Regions from separate parts of the Homo sapiens genome. Here region 1 is linked to region 2. Evidence: promoter capture Hi-C in human tissues and cell types (Jung and others, 2019). All regions are on one chromosome and are shown on one strand. Each heading gives the region's core, a stretch centred on a gene start or on the middle of the fragment in contact. The rest is flanking DNA. Distances are from core to core; before and after follow the strand shown. Region 1 holds the start of LOC124903229 (NADH-ubiquinone oxidoreductase chain 5-like). Region 2 holds the start of SLITRK5 (SLIT and NTRK like family member 5).

Region 1 (2,700 bases), core at 129-2,628, 44 kb before region 2:
GTGTATATATATATACACGTATATATATATATACACGTATATATATATATATATAGAGAGAGAGAGAGAGAGAGAGCACGATGGAATCTGCGTCTGCTCTGTCGTCCAGGCTGGAGTGCAGTGGCATGATCTCGGCTCACTGCAACCTCCACCTCCCATGTTCAAGCAATTCTTCTGCCTCAGCCTCCCGAGTAGCTGGGTTTACAGGTGCATGCCACCACGCCCGGTTAATTTTTGTATTTTAGTAGAGACGGGGTGTCACCAGATTGGCCAGGCTGGTCTCGAACTCCTGACTTTGTGATCCGCCTGCCTCAGCCTCCCAAAGTGCTGGGATTACAGGCGCGAGCCACTGCACCTGGCCTTTAAATATTTAGCAATATTTTTTAGCTGGATTTAAAGATTACTATGGATAAGGGACTGGGCTTCCTTTTTACTCACCCCCTTCAACGACAATTGTAATTAGCCTATGTCTGTCCAACCAATAAATTTTGGGTATGTTGAGGGAAGAGAGCTTGCCTCTTTATTTCCTATAGCTTTATTTCAAAGGAGAACTGTACTCAAGGAGACATACCCAAGGAACAGCAACTAAAGGGCATCATCCATATATATATACATAATTTAGATGATGAGATCTCAGTCGTTGATTTTCTTCCTGATGCTGTAATGGCACAAAAATCCTGGGGTTTCTTGGTGTGACTATATATTGAATGTGGGAGAAATGTAAATAATTGGGGGTCAGAAGAGAGTGTGGTCCCAAAATTATTTAATATTCCTTCCATTGAGAAATACAGTCTATGCCTCTCCCTGAAATGTGGACTCTGTACACATAATCAATAGTGTCAGATAAAAATGATGTGCCAGTTCCCAGAACAAGTATAAAAGAAACTGCTAGTTTCCACTTTCTGTCTCCTGGGAGGCTCACCTTATGTCCAGCTACCTTGTCGTCAAGCCCAGAGAGTGCAGCAGAGAAGCCTTTCTGAGGAAGTTCACGTGGAAAGGAACAGAGGCTTCTGCCCCTCAGCACCAGCTGAGTTTCTAGTCAACTGCATTAATTTGCACCCGTGGAAGAGAGATTTCTTTTTCAAGTGGAATCTCCCAGCTCCCAGTTGAGCTGATGCAGATGATGTGATGAAGCAAAGATAAGCCTTCATTTCACCAAACTGCAGATTGGTGAGCCAAAGAAAATATTGTTTTATGCCAAAAAGCTTGGGGTGGTCTGTTAAATAACAAGAACTCTAATTATCCATAATTTATTTTCTTGTAACCTTCCCAAGATTTCCCAATGAATTAAAAAACAAACAGAAGCTCAGGTTACTTACCAGAGACTAACAGGTCCTTCTTGATCTCTGGCCACATTTGCAAACTAATTTCCTTCTGCATTCACCATCTTTTACTATTCTGCAGGTCTGTAAAGTTTATGTTCTTCAAATCAATCCAATGTTCAGCAAACTCACAAGCTTTGTTTTGCTAGATTTCTCTAACTGTTTTACTTAAATTTGTTCTTCTTACAGTCCTTACCTTATACAGTGCCCACTTTTAATTAATTATTTTTTTGACAGGGTCTCACTCCGTCACCTGTGCTGGAATGCAGTGGCACAATCTTGACTCACTGTAACCTCCATCAACCAAGTTCAAGAGATCCTCCCACCTCAGCCTCTCAAGTACCTGAGACACAGGCACACGCCATCATGTCTGGCTAATTTTGGTGTATATATACACATATATACAAATATATGTATATATATGTATATATATACACATATATACATATATACACATATATATGTATACATATATGTATACATATACGTATATATGTATACACATATACACATATATATGTATACACATATACACATATATATGTATACACATATACACATATATATGTATACACATATACACATATATATGTATACACATATACACATATATATGTATACACATATACACATATATATGTATACATATATACACATATATATGTATACATATATACACATATATATGTATACATATATACACATATATATGTATACATATATACACATATATATGTATACATATATACACATATATATGTACACATATATACACACATATATACACATATATATGTACACATATATACACATATATATGTACACATATATATGTATACATATATACACATATATGTATACATATATACACATATATGTATACATATATACACATATATATGTATACATATATACACACATATATGTATACATATACACACATATATGTATACATATACACACATATATGTATACATATATACACACATATATGTGTACATATATACACACATATATGTGTACATATATACACACATATATGTGTACATATATACACATATATGTATATATGTGTATATACACATATATACGTATATATGTGTATATATATACACATATATACGTATATATGTGTATATATATACACATATATATTTTGTAGAGACAGGGTCTCACCATGTTGCTCAGGCTGGTATTGAACTCCTGGGCTCAACCAGTCTGCCCTTCTCTGCTTCCCAAAGTGCTGGGATTACATGTGTGAACCACTGCACATGACCCACTTTAAATTTTTTACAACATTTATTACTATTGCAATTAACTACATTTATTCATGTATTTGTTATCTGTCTCTACTACTGGAAGTTATCGTCTATGTACC
Region 2 (2,700 bases), core at 1-2,500:
CTGAATAAAAAATACAGAAATAAGCCTTTTGTGGATGACGTGTAAGTTATATTTGTTGATGCAATGTATCTACAGCTAGTGGCTATCATTCCTAGGTCAAATGCTTCTAAATTTAATGAAACGTTCATTACAAGATTTTGTTTTTATTGTCTGAAATTACATATTACTTCTTTCCTTCCTCTCCCTTGAATATAACCCATACTTAAACAAAATTGCTTCCAAATAAAGTTTTTATGGTATAAAGTAAAAATATATATATTCACACAACATACGCAGGGGAAAGTTCAAAAAAGATTGCAGTACCTCAGGAGACTGCAATGTTCATCACCTGAGATATATATACATCTCAGAACATAGACATATTATCAGACTCTATATCAATATTAAACATATGATTAACCAGATTATAACACAGTATTATCCCAAATATTACTAAGAATAAAACAATATCAATAATAATTAAGACGTAATTAATTGCAAAATAAAGTGGGTAAAATATATTTACATGGAGAAACTAACTACATAGTTATCAAAGGAACAGGCACATGTGCACTCAGCCTGCACTGGGTCACTTACTATTATCAACTTTTCTCTTATACCCGGGATGAACGGCAGGTCTAATATTACAAATATTGAAAACATGTCTTATGAAAGTAAAGACCCCTTTTTGGGGATGGAAGTGTCTGGTTTCATGGAAAGACCCAAGAATACTTACTGTAGAGATGACTCTAGTGGAGTTTAGCAGATGACTCTTCAAGAAACTCGCTTTCTATCGATATTGCATTTACTTAGGGGTTTTCCAGCTTTTTAGTACACACCAGATGTATTCACAAACATTCCCTCTGAAAGTCTTTCACATTCCCTTGTGTTGCCTAGACACACCTATAAAACGTAATTCTATTAAAGAGAAAAGAAAAGTAGCGCCCTTGTTTGCAGCTAGGAGGAACCACTCCCTTTTCCAGGATCCTTAACAGTAAGTACACGAGACAGCAGCATTCTGAATGGCAGGAGGAAGGCAGGCGATCAGCACAGGGCTGGAATCATCTGTTCCTGACCACCAGCAAGCCTGGCACTGCCGGGGTTATTTCCACTCCTCCCTTTCCCAATCCGAGAATTGCACAGTCCCACGCTCGAATTACACACATGGTCCAAGACTTCTCTCTCTTCCTACGAATGTGACATCCAAGGGGGCCCCGGTTGCGCCGCCCTAGCCCAGGGACGCCTTCGCCCTCGGCTGCCATCTATCGGCCACCGAGCGCCCGCTTCGCCCCGGGCCCATCATGTCTGCTGCAGCTTGGCTCGCACCAGAGGCGCGACAATAAACAAGTGCACTGGACTGGGCCCTGCACCCGCTCCGGAGCAGCTGTCTCAGAGACCCGGTGTTGCTTACCGCGTTGCCACCTCCTCGGCGCCCGGGAGGAAGACGCAACTTTCTCGGAGTTTTTTTTAGAGCCACCGGGCTGCCAGGACAAGCCACAGGCATAGAACGACGCGGTTGCTGCCCGCCCCCCCCTTCCCCCAGAAACCCCAAAGGATGTCGGTGATAGAGAGTTCCAACTAATGACGATTGTGCGCCGCATCTGGGGAAGGGATACAGAAAAAAACCCTGCAAACACCGTGAGGATGAAACTGCCAAAGGGATGCAAGAGCCTCTCAAATACTAATTAGGGGCCGCGGCGGCGGCGGGCTCGGCGCGGAGACAGCGTCGGCGGGATCCCAGCGCGGTGGTCGCCGCTGCGCTGGGGGGCGGAGGACAGCGCAGGAGCTGCAGCCGCCGCCTTCGCTGGAGCAGCCGAGGGGCCGGTGCCACCTTTGCTCGCCCCCTCACTACCATGTACAGTGTGCGCTGCAAGAAGAAGGCGGGAGATGCATGCACACCCCCGCGACCCGCTCCCTCTGGCTCGTCCCCCGGCGTGCGCCACTGACCAGGGGGGAATGTGGTGAAGACGGCGAGGAGGAGAGCCGAGGGGGGAGGGGAGGGCCGGCCGGCGCGAACCCAGGCCGGAGGGTGCGAGGAGCCAGAGGAGGCTGGAGGGGGCGGCGGCCACAGCTGGGTCGGAGAAAGTTGCCCCCTATGCAGATGGCAACTGTGAGTACCCCTGTGGGGGGGAGGGTGCAGCGAAGGCTGCCAGGGACCCCGCGATCGCGCCTTAACACGTATTGGAGCGAGTGTGCGAGTGATCATGAGTGTGAGCGGGTGCGAGCGCTCGGCGGGGCTGACCGTCACGTTGGCGGGGCCGGCGGGGCCAGGCAGTCTTCTCCGCGTCCCCCTCCTCCCGCTCCGTGCCTCCCCTCCCAGCAGCTCCCCCTCCCCGCCCCGCCCGGCTCCGGCTCCCGGCCCCTACCGCGAGGCGCCTCTCCAGCCGGACCTCCGCCGCCCCCTCCCGCCGCCTCCCTATCCCGCCGCTGCAGAACGCCCCCCGCTCTCCACCCCCCAACCCTGCTGCCCGCTCCGACTACCGCGGAGAGCACCGGGGAGAGCCTTTTGGGGAGCCCCGGAACCCGCGGTCGCCACCGCGGCGGCGGCCCCAGGCTGGAGGCGTCCGGGCGCCTCTTTCCTCCAGCCTCTGGGACTGCGCTGCTCGCAGTCTCCTCGCCCTGCCTGGGCTTGAGAAACCTAGTGCATACCCCAAAGAGGGTTTTTGTGTATGTGTGTGTTTTTAAAGGGTGGCTATGATGACTGGGCCTTGGAGATGTGAG

Evidence for each region. The method cuts DNA at HindIII sites, captures the fragments that hold promoters and counts their contacts. A contact is called where the count stands out against the background at its distance.
Region 1: a contact is called between a fragment that was not itself captured here and the fragment with the promoter of SLITRK5 in region 2, in 6 of the 25 tissues and cell types used here (aorta, dorsolateral prefrontal cortex, hippocampus and 3 more).

Annotation. Positions count from the first base shown.
Region 1 is chr13:87,625,953-87,628,652 of GRCh38, forward strand. All of the region lies in intron 1 of LOC124900338 (formin-like protein 5), which reads right to left. LOC124903229 (NADH-ubiquinone oxidoreductase chain 5-like) reads right to left here and starts at 2,466. Exons shown (of 3, transcript XM_047430846.1): 1 at 2,030-2,466; 2 at 1,728-1,961. The coding sequence starts at 2,466. The region is part of intron 1 of MIR4500HG (MIR4500 host gene); the gene reads right to left. The HindIII fragment of the contact is 5,299 bases long and covers 1-2,700 here.
Region 2 is chr13:87,670,121-87,672,820 of GRCh38, forward strand. SLITRK5 (SLIT and NTRK like family member 5) reads left to right here and starts at 1,251. Exons shown (of 2, transcript NM_001384609.1): 1 at 1,251-2,089. It overlaps LOC124900338 (formin-like protein 5), which reads right to left and starts at 2,247. Exons shown (of 2, transcript XM_047430855.1): 1 at 716-2,247. The coding sequence starts at 2,185. The coding sequence ends at 1,661. It overlaps MIR4500HG (MIR4500 host gene), which reads right to left and starts at 843. Exons shown (of 6, transcript NR_033829.1): 1 at 716-843. RefSeq lists an enhancer at 978-1,479. The HindIII fragment of the contact is 26,915 bases long and covers 1-2,700 here.